Regions from separate parts of the Homo sapiens genome. Here region 1 is linked to region 2. The links are contacts of gene promoters, found by promoter capture Hi-C in human tissues and cell types (Jung and others, 2019). All regions are on one chromosome and are shown on one strand. The core of a region is centred on a gene start or on the middle of the fragment in contact, and the rest is flanking DNA. Distances in the headings are between cores, read along the strand shown.

Region 1 (5,115 bases), core at 2,609-5,108, 760 kb after region 2:
TTTCAGCATCTCATATGCTTATCCTGGGAGGATTTGGGTCTCAGGAAGGACACATGGTTGTCTGTCTGCTGCCAGCCCAGACGACAAGGACTGCCCAGTGGTCCCACGGCATCAGAAGCTAAATAAAATGGTTATTTTAAACCACTAAACTAGGAGAACATAGAGTTGTTGCACAACAAACAAGAGCTTCTGAAACCGCTTGATGTCCTAAGGTTAGCATTCCCTCAATCTGGACTTGGAACCCCTTCCTGTGGGAGGACTAGATGAACATGGAACTGAGCCTGGCAGACACTGCAAATGAGGCCCCTGCCAGCCAGGGGAAGCATTGATAGGCACACTGAGGGTATGCTGAAGAAGGCAGTGAGGTCCAGCTCCAGGAAGCTGCAGCAACATTAGGCCACTGCAGCGGACCTCATTTTCAGAAGGATTTTAAGCCAAAGCCCAAGGTAAAGGGGAGCAAGGACTTTTATGCAGCTTGTTTTTGTGCAGGTATTAAGGACTCTCAGGAAGCCTGGTCCTTCAGGGGTTTATTTTGTTTGTTTATTTGTTTTGTTTTGTTTTTTCTATACACAGGGGAGAGGATTCAAATGCAGTAATCAGTTTCTTGCTCTTTTTTTTTTCTTCTTAAATAGAGACAGAGTCTCGCTCTATTGCCCAGGCTGGTTTCAAATTCCTGGGCTCAAACAATCCTCATGCCTCAGCCTCCGAAACTGCTGGGATTACAGGCATGAGCCCCGATGCTTGGCCAATTTTCTTGTTCTGTAAAGCTGCACTGCTTAAGCACAAGGCCAAAATGAGGTCTCTCACCACTTCTGCCTGAACTAAACTTACCCAGTGAATGCTGGGCTGGGCAGTCCAGTCTTCCCCACATGTGGTAATGTTCTGCTCTCAGTCATGTTCTAACCACAAGGCAGCAAACACTGGCGCAGCTGAGCCCGAGGCTGGGGCTGCAGTCTGAACTTTTACATTACTCAGTTAATTACAAAGCCAGTCAAATCACCCCAAAGATCCACACACCCAAGAGTGCTGGATAAGAAAAAAATCCTGCATATCAAACCCCTTCTGGGGGAGAGACCAGGGAGAGCGTGGAAGAGAAGAGGTCTGGGGTATGCAGTGGCTGGTGGCCTAGAGCAATTCTAACCCAGGAGGCCTCAACAGGGAGCCTGCACCTGAATGTTGGAAGAAGCAGGGTTTCCGTCAGTCTGTGTTGGCTTTAAAGGAACCATCCTTCATGCCCAAAGGAGGCAAGTGTTTGGCAGCTTTTCCAGATGGCATGTCTTGCAGTCGTTGAAAATTTTTTAAAGTGTAATTCTTGATAGTGTATCTCCAAGACAGAGAGACAAGCCCCTAGTCACCCTTCTGAACACCATAAAGTAAGTTGCGATCTCCATCAGACACTGGGGCACTTGTCCTGGACTCTCTTGGCTTGTGGGAACTTGCTTGCATGTCAAGCTTTCTTCAGTTCCGTTCCTAATTCCAGACTCCATTGTCCCGTTACTAAATTGCTCTGGTCCTTTTGGCTCTTGCACTTTGATTCCGCAGGTGGACTTTGACTTGGATCTGCTTCCCTGCCCCACTTTGGGCCATAAAAGTAGAATTCCTGACCTGTCTGCACCCTGGATCCACCTCCTACAGTGACCAATCCTAGCCTGCTGAGCTTAGTCACTCGGCAGGGCAATTCAACCCTCCCAGAGGGTAAAGACCCAGCAGCTCAGGCGGCCCTGCAGCAATGAGGAAACGTGCTTTTGATCTAGTTAAGTAAAAGGAGCAGAACACAAACTGTATTTGCAACTGTGTGAAAATAGGCCAAGGGGAAATAACAAAAGGACTTCCTTAATTCAATTTTTTATTATCATCGTTACATTGTTATTGTTCTGAAGTCTATTCTAAGTTGAAATCTTGTTTTATGTGGCTATTTTCCCTCAAAACTGGGGTCAATCATTATATTTAATTATACTAACAGATTCGCATACATTATTTGTTAGCTCCTTTGTCCTTGGGTAGAGACGAGCAAAGAGGAACCAAGTAATTTAGATTCTTTTAACTAGAGAAGAAAAAAATGCAAATTCCCATCCTCACTTCATTTTACAAAACTGAAAGAGAAAGGATAGTTTTAACTATTGGCAAAGTAAAATTGCTCTTCTAGCTGCTCAAGTTGAACACTTATTGTACAAATTATTAATTTTATTAAAAGTGTATGAAATAATTTTTTAGATTATCAGAGACTATAAAATAAAAAGCATCTTTTCTCAGTTTAAAAACGAAGGACAATTTTAAAGGACTCAAAGTATGCAGAATATAAATAGAAGCTTTCATGGCTAATGTTACACAGTTAGTAAATGGCACACATAAAACATGACCCTTGGCATCCTGACTTCTGGTGCACCTGTCCACTCTTCTCCACTGGGAAGCTGGATGGAAGGTATGACATACAAACTGGTTAAGAAAGAATTGCAATTCTTAGTTTGTGAACAGTTCATTGTAATAATCCAGGAGTGACGTGACTGGTCTAAAACAAATACTATGTAAGCTTCATTAATGAAAATACAGTCTTCCCACTACCCAGTGTGATCATCTAAATTCTCTTCCATTCTGAGATTCTCTAATTCCCTCAAAACCTTGAGTTTCTCCCTGAAAAACTTCTGGGATTAACTTGAATGCTGAACTATAGCAAAAGATGTTACAGTGTTATTGTAAAATTCTAAAGGGATCTATGCTATGAAACAAACTGGCTTTAAATTAAGATTATGAGAAATTATAACAAATGTCAGAGAACTGGAAGCCTAAAAGCATGCCAAATTTATGCAAAAAGGAACAAGTTCAACAAGAAAGCTAATGATTAGAAACTTTCCCTTGAATTTGGAGGGGAAACCATGACAAGATTTAGAGTACATTATGTTGAGAAACCTTATGCTATAGAAAAAGAAAAATGCAAACCAAGTTCATGTTCATTTGAAGCACTTCTCCTGCCCACATCCTTAGAAATGACCAAGGAATGCTTGATTAATTTGGTACCTTCCCTGCAAGCTTTCCCAGAAGCATCTCTCATTATATGAGGTGTTGATTCTTTCTTCACCCACCCAAAGAAACACTCTGCTAGCCTAGATTTTGGCCAGTTAAGCATCAGGGGAAAGAAAATTGGAATTGTATGTACAATCTACAGATTTATATACATGATAGCACCTGGCCCTTAATAGATGCTTAAAAGTGTTTTTATCGAGTCATCAGGACCTCCTCATAGATCAGAATGGAAAATATCCAGTATTAGGTGTAAGTCTATGTTTATGTTTATATTTAAATAAATATATATTTAAATAAATTAAATACAATATTTAATAAATATAATTTACTGGTAAATATTCCTTAGGTTTCTAACAATTTCCTGAAATCTATTATTCTAAATAATTGAACGCAAACACAACCAGCTAAACATTAGGTTAGCTTGTTCTCTCCTGACATCTAGTGTTTCCAATACATTACTGCAAAACACCAGTTTTTCTTTTTTAATGTTTACAGGTTTATTATAAAGGACTTACAAAGGACAAAGACGAAGAGACACATAGGGCAAGGTACCAGGGAAGGGGCACAGAGCTTCCATGCCCTCCCTGGGCGCATCACTCTACAGGAACCTCCCTGTGTTCAGCTATCCAGAAGCTCTCCAAACTCCATCCTCTTGGGCTTTAATGGAAGCTTCGCAAGGTCAGCATTCCTTCCCCCAGGGTATGCGGTGGGGCCCTCTCTGGAGAACCCCAGTTAATTTTTAAATATTAAAATAAAAATGCTGGCCAGGCACAGTGACTCACACCTGTAATCCCAGCACTTTAGGAGGCTGAGGCAGGGGGATCACTTGAAGTCAGGAATTCAAGACCAGTCTGACCAGCACGGTGAAACCCCATCTCTACTAAAAATACAAAATTTAGCCAGCTGTGGTGGTGCGTGCCTGTAATCCCAGCTGCTTGGGAGGCTGAGGCAGGAGAGTCATCTGAATCCTGGAGACAGATGTTGCAGTGAGCTGAGATTGCACCACTGCACTTCATCCAGCCTGGGGTGACAGAACGAGACTCCGTTTCAAAAAAATAAAAGAATGAAAATGCTATGTGGAACAAAAATTGTATTCATTTTTGAAACAAGTTTGTTTAAATGAAATGAAATCCCAAGCAAACAACAAAGCTGTTTCTGAGGAGTGAAAGACCTTTTTTGCTTAATTCTTCCCATAGGAGAAAATTCTTTGAAATATTTTCTTGCAATTCGATAAAAATGGAAAGACCCAGCATGTAGGTAGGGCTGCTTGATTATTGCAATGGAGGGAGGGAAGATGGGGAAGCACATGCAGCCCTTCTGTGCACCAGGCTCCAGGTGTGAGGACTCTCATAGCACCATTTGTGCAACGACGGATTCGGCCTACTGACAAGGTTTTGAGGATTTCCCTACTCTGCTATGTGGAAATGGAGACACTCAACATCTCCTTATAAAATATCTTGTGCCAGCCCTCAAGATACATGAAGCTGTGGGCCCTCAGAAACATCTGGCTCAGCAGAAATGACTGCAGGGTCTGCCTCTGAAGCCCAGCGTTTCTACTCCATTTGGGATATTCCACACAGGAAGAGAATTGGAAATGCTGGAGGTAAGAGCTTTGGCAATCGCTCTCCAAAAACCCTTGGAAACTCAAGTCAGCTTTGGCTGGGGAAGGGTACACATTAGCTATCTCTTCCATACCCACCCAGTCCTTCCTGTTTCTGTTCATTCTTCTTATTCTTTCTAATCCACACCTGCTCCCTCAGTCACACTTTCAGCCTCTGCCCTCTCCTGCTGACAGAGGGCTGTGATCTCCCCTCCTCCCCAGGCTCCCCACGTCAGGCCGTCCTCCAGGAGTGGCTATCCATCTCTAAGGGCTTTCCGGACTGCTGCCCAGCAACTTCAACAGGCACCTCTAATCGACGACCTCTCCTGCCTCCGCTGGTGTAGGGACGCCAGGCTTCTGAACAGCACTGCTCTCCTCATTTGCCTTCAAGCTGGCCTATCTTTCCTGCTGGTGGTGGTGGGCAGAGGCAAGGGTGTGGTCAGCTTTGAAAGAGATTCCATTCTTGGAATAAAGTGATCTAGCAAACAAAGTCT
Region 2 (5,192 bases), core at 2,659-5,158:
CAATGGAGGTAGAATGCTTAATCAGGCAATAAACTATTCAACTCAATGAAAATGCAGAACTGGGAGGTTCACACAAACAAACAAAAAACAGTGCAATAATTAAGGAGTAATTTTAACTCAAAACAATCTTAATTTAAGGAGAAACTTAAAGCTGGTGTCCCATATCCAGTATTTGAAACTGAACCCCCAAAAGTTGGGAATCTGGAAATCTGCACTTCTAGATCTGGCCTCTGGATGTGCTGTCTCCCCCAAGTTATCTGTTAGTTTGGACAACTACAACTCACTCCTCCTTTAAGGGAGATAGGACTGAAGTTTCTCAAAAGGAATTTCACCAAGAAATAAAAACATAGAAGAGATAGACATGAGACAAAAACAAAACAAAACAAACACACAGACTCAAATGGCATTAAGGAGTGTGTGTGTATACATATATTTAATACTCACTACATACTATATATGTGCACATATAATGTTCAACATGATGTGTGAAGTATTATGCTAAAAATGTACACATATTGTTCTTCATGCAACAAATATTGAATTTAACTACTGTTATAAGCACTGGGGAAACAGCTTTGTATTTGAGTTGGGGAGACAGGAAATCATACAGTAAGCAAACAATCAGTTTGAAGAAAAATAGAGTGACTGGAGTATTATTTTAGAAGGCCTGTTAAGTAAAGGCCTCCATGGGATGTGACATGAGGCTGAGACCTGCATAAGCCAAGGCTGTAAACTCCACAGAGACAGGCAAGGGGCAAATGCTAAGGCTTAGCCCTCTGGGGCAAGTCATTTTTATCACACCCACTTTATGTATGGGGAAAACAGGGCTCACAGGGGAGCAAAATGGCTTCTCTGAGATTCTATGGCCAAGAAGCAGCATGAACAGCCATATAGCTGATGGGCTGTTCTACTTAGATTATTTCCTCTCCAGTTGGTTTTACCCAACTCCTGTCCAGGCCGCATCCTTTCCATTGCTCTGTCATTTTTTAGTCTCATTTCCTCTCCCCAAGAGACTGGTAATTCCTCTTTTAAACCTTCTCTAACTCTCATAGGAAGAAAACTTAATGACAGCAGTCGGCACTAACCTCTTTCAGAGGGAGTGCTACTTTATGCCTGCATCTGCTCTCCCTTCCCACCTGTAAGTCCTTGAGGGGAAGAGAGGGAGTGGTATCATTTACCTTTGCAGAGTAGGCAACTAGCACAGCCCTTTGCATAGAAGCAATTAAGAAGTGAACTTGTAAGAAGTATTTGAGGGAAGGATGGAGAAAAGAAGGAAAAAAAGGAAGGGAGAAAGATTTTTAGTTCTGGATGTAATACAATTTAGAAAATGAGAATAAGAGATTGCAGAGAAAAATGAAGGTAGCTTCACACAATTTCTAGACTTCTTATTAGCATTGTGTTATCTTTGTTTCTTATTTAAATGCATTTAGTACAAATGCATTTTTCAACATCTTAAATTACACAAGGAAGAAACTCCAATTTGAGGCTATCAGTAAAGGCAGCAATGGGAAAGGGAGAGGTACAAGGGACCCTCCTGGTCTCCTAAAATCATACCACATGGGTGGTACTAACTCTGAATGTTAGATCAATGTACATTATTACACCTGCTTATGAGGGAACAGTTAGCTTCCCTGTGGGTAACTGCTATTTGTGTCCCAAGTTTCAGAGGCAGCACAGGGAATATGTAAATCCAGGAGCTCTAGAGTCAAATTCCCTGGCTTTGTATTCCTCTTCCTGGTTTAGCAGCCAGGGGAGCCTCTCCTCCTGTTTCCCTATCTTTTCAGTGATGATGCTCACAGCACCCACCCCAATGAGGTTGCAGTGATGATTAAATGAGTGAACACACATAAAGTACTTAGATGGGTGTATGGCACCTGGCAAGGACCCAGTGCAAGTTAGCTGCTAATATGGTACTTCCTAAATAAATAAAATCATGACAAAGTATACTGGGGTAAACATATGTAATTTGGAGAGAAGGAAGTGTCAGTATTTTTATTACCATCATTCATCACAGTCTCTGGAGATGAAAAGGTTACAACAATTTCTGGAAGTTATAGATAGAAGACTTGTTCATGTCCTCTCACTTTTCAGCTGCTTCCTACAGCTTTTAGAGGGGTCAATGGCCTGAGATGTTCTGCAATGTCCTTTTCTACATGCTAAACTACTTATTTGTCAGTGTTCATTTTTTTCTATTGTTTTCATCCATAAAGAATGATGACGAGTACGTGGATTGTGCATAAAGGCAGCGTGCTCACATGATCCTTGATCACTGATGTCTTAACGCTTGAATTAAAAAAGGAGGAGGAGTTCTGACTGGACTTCTCCTGTCTCCATGATAATATCAGAGGTGGAATGTAAACAATGAATGTTCTTGACCCTTTTAATAACCCAAATCCTGAGGTTATTCATGTGTCCCTACTAGAATTTCAAAGATGTGCAGACTTCCTTGGGAATGATAACCGTCTTAAATTATAAACATAGATCCTGAAGAAACGTTTCAGAAAGGATAAAAATAAAAACAGGACTGCTTTTAACGCCTGAACTAACGGCTTGAGCAGTTTCCATGTCTGGAGTGGAAGTATTAAAAACGCAAAGATGTCTTGCCTTTTCTTACCAACCTACCGCCAAGAACCCAGGAGGGCAGCAGTGGGCTAGAAACAGGGTTTCTGTGCCAAATTCTGAAAACAGCCTTTTCTGAGATAATTGGCCTGCAGGCTTGTTCCCTGTTCTGGTGTGCTTTTGAGCTCCTTGCGCAGTTCCACCAGGTACAACAAATGCGCCCATAAAATCTGTCTTTGAGCCCTGATGAAATTTCATCCTCTGCAGAACGCCTCCGCTCTGTTTTATTAGGTGGGAGAGAGCAGGAGAGTTTCCACAGGATTCAGAGAGAGTTTGTCCGTATCTTAACTATCCGAGATCTTCTTTCCAAATCCTTCTCAATTTATTTCTGTGAAGATATATTTATACCTATTCCGGAAACCTTCTCCATTTCTAGAAAAAGCTACGCATCTTCTTCTTCCTCGACTTCTCTTTTCTCCCTCCCGGTGAGGATTTCAAAGGGTATGTGAGAAAAGAACCTTAAGCCAGGTCTCCCCGCGGCGTCCTGGCTAGTCCCGGCGCCCTGGGCGGGTGCATCGCTCCGCCGCAGCGCCCCTTGCCACCCAACTCTGTCCAACTTTCCCTTTCAGACTCCAGCAGGGGCGCCCTCCAGGCAACCGGCTGTGGCGGGCAGAAGCAAGCTCGGATGGGAGACCCCCGAGCTGCGTGCCCAGCGCCGGCTCAACAGACTTGCCCGCGCAGCGCCCGCGGGCCCCCTCGCATCCGGGCAGGTTCCGGAGCTGGGCCTTGCGCTCCCCGGCGCCCGCCCACCCTGGGTGTCTCGCGTCCCGGCCCTTCCTCCCCGGAACCCAAGCTAACCCAACTCCCATCCTCGCCACCTCTGGGGCAGCTCAACTAAGCCGTGTCCCCTCCCTTGCAAACGCGTCCGACCACCCTCCCAACCCCCAGCACAACCCTCAGCAAGAAAGCCCAGCTGGGTCTACCCAGTTACACCGGTCAACGAGGGTCTCCATCGCCGCCGGCCGCCCTAATTCACGCTCATTCATATTCATTCTCTTTTCTCTCTGTCCCTCTTCCTTTCTCCCCAAAGACTCTTAACTAGACAGGCCGATCCTCCCCAGCGGCACTCCCTTTCATTCTTCCCTTCCCACCACACACACACACACACACACACACCCGGACCCAGACAGCCCACTCCACTTTCCAGACGCCCACCTCCTACATACTCCCCTCCCCTAAACAGACATTCACCCACTCGCCATCTGTAGCCTCCTTCCAACCCCCCGCCCCGCCCGCCTGGCTCCCCCTCCCCAAGAAACAGACCTGCACAGTGGGACGCAGGGACCCCCGCCAGACGCTCGGGTCGTGCGCACCGCACTGACCTCGGCCCGCCCCGCCGGGAAACTAACAAAGGCGGGCGCGAGCCCCGAGCCCTGGAGCCGCGAGCGGCGGCCGCGGGGCCGAGGAGCCTGGGCCGGGCCGGGCGGGGACTACTCCGGAGTCAGGAGGCAGCAGCGGCGGAGGACGAGGATCTCTGGCAGTCAGCGCCGCTCGGACGCCGCCGGCACCATGGGCTGCTGCACCGGACGCTGCTCGCTCATCTGCCTCTGCGCGCTGCAGTTGGTGAGTGCCCCGAGGGCCCCTGCCCCAGGACAGGTCCCTGCTCCAGGACCGGCCTCTGCGACTCCCTCTGCGGTTCCGCAGCTCCCGGCAAGGGGCGAACGGGTGAACAGGGCGCTCCGCCCGCCTCCCACCCTCCCCACCGCCTGGCTGGGCTCGCACTGCTCTCCAGCCGCGGGCACTCGCCAGGTCGCCCCTGCCCTGCAGGAGGGCGCGGTCTCACCCCCGGTCCCATGCGCTGGGGTTCGCCGCGCTCCCGCCGGGCGTCGCCACGCGGTCCAGGGGCCAGGAGCCGGCGGAGTGAGGGATTTTCCCGCCCCTTGATCCGATACCTGGTTTAGCACCCTCCGCGTTCGTGCTGAAGTTACACGGGGACTTGCGGGCTCTTTCTTCTTAGGATGATTTCCAGGAATGTTGCTTAATTACACTGTGTGGGAATGCCCAGGTTCTGAGGAGACAGAAGCTGCCTCAACTCTGTTAGTGAAGAGTGAGGTGGTTCTAACCTTAAGCAGGTTGAAAAGTGATGGTTAAGGAGTCTGGGACCTCCAGGAAGGAGATCAGGCTGTGTGCTTCAGCCCCTGCCCTTCCAGTTCCGCTTTGGATTTTGTTGAAATGTTGCATGTTCAGGCGGCGACAGACTGACAGCTGTCATCAAGGAGAGAACAGAGTGAACCGGCTCCATTGGCGCGGTGCCTTGCAGAGGGAGTGTGTGTAATGGGAAGTTAGAAACTAGAGTGGGGAAAAAAGGCCCTTTCAGAGCAGAGCAAATGCTCCTCTTAATCCCTTTGGATCCTGGACTGGCTCTGTGGTCTATTCCATGGTCACTTGAGGTCAAGGCCACAGACCTTTTGAGTCAGACTTTTGTGTGTGAGAGATTAATAGACATCTCCCTTGCGTTATACTTCAGACAGATTCTGAGTGCTCTGCCAAGCTTTCTTCCAAGCATTGTATTTTTTTTCGAGTCACAAATATAAACTAGTATATTTTGACAAGTGAGAGGAAAAAGCTTGCAA

What was found. The method cuts DNA at HindIII sites, captures the fragments that hold promoters and counts their contacts. A contact is called where the count stands out against the background at its distance.
Region 1: a fragment that was not itself captured here is called in contact with the fragment with the promoter of NKAIN3 in region 2 in 1 of the 25 tissues and cell types used here (dorsolateral prefrontal cortex).

Annotation. Positions count from the first base shown.
Region 1 is chr8:63,008,471-63,013,585 of GRCh38, forward strand. It overlaps LOC107986946 (a long non-coding RNA gene), which reads left to right. Exons shown (of 4, transcript XR_001745930.2): 1 at 1-446; 2 at 3,517-3,699; 3 at 4,488-4,624. Among named protein-coding and RNA genes, the nearest start is that of GGH, 28 kb to the right of the region's middle. RefSeq lists an enhancer at 1,349-1,981 and a silencer at 1,627-1,686. The HindIII fragment of the contact is 3,957 bases long and covers 1,881-5,115 here.
Region 2 is chr8:62,244,946-62,250,137 of GRCh38, forward strand. NKAIN3 (sodium/potassium transporting ATPase interacting 3) reads left to right here and starts at 3,909. Exons shown (of 7, transcript NM_001304533.3): 1 at 3,909-4,182. The coding sequence starts at 4,129. It overlaps LOC124901952 (a long non-coding RNA gene), which reads right to left. Exons shown (of 2, transcript XR_007060932.1): 1 at 4,512-5,192. The HindIII fragment of the contact is 6,824 bases long and covers 1-5,192 here.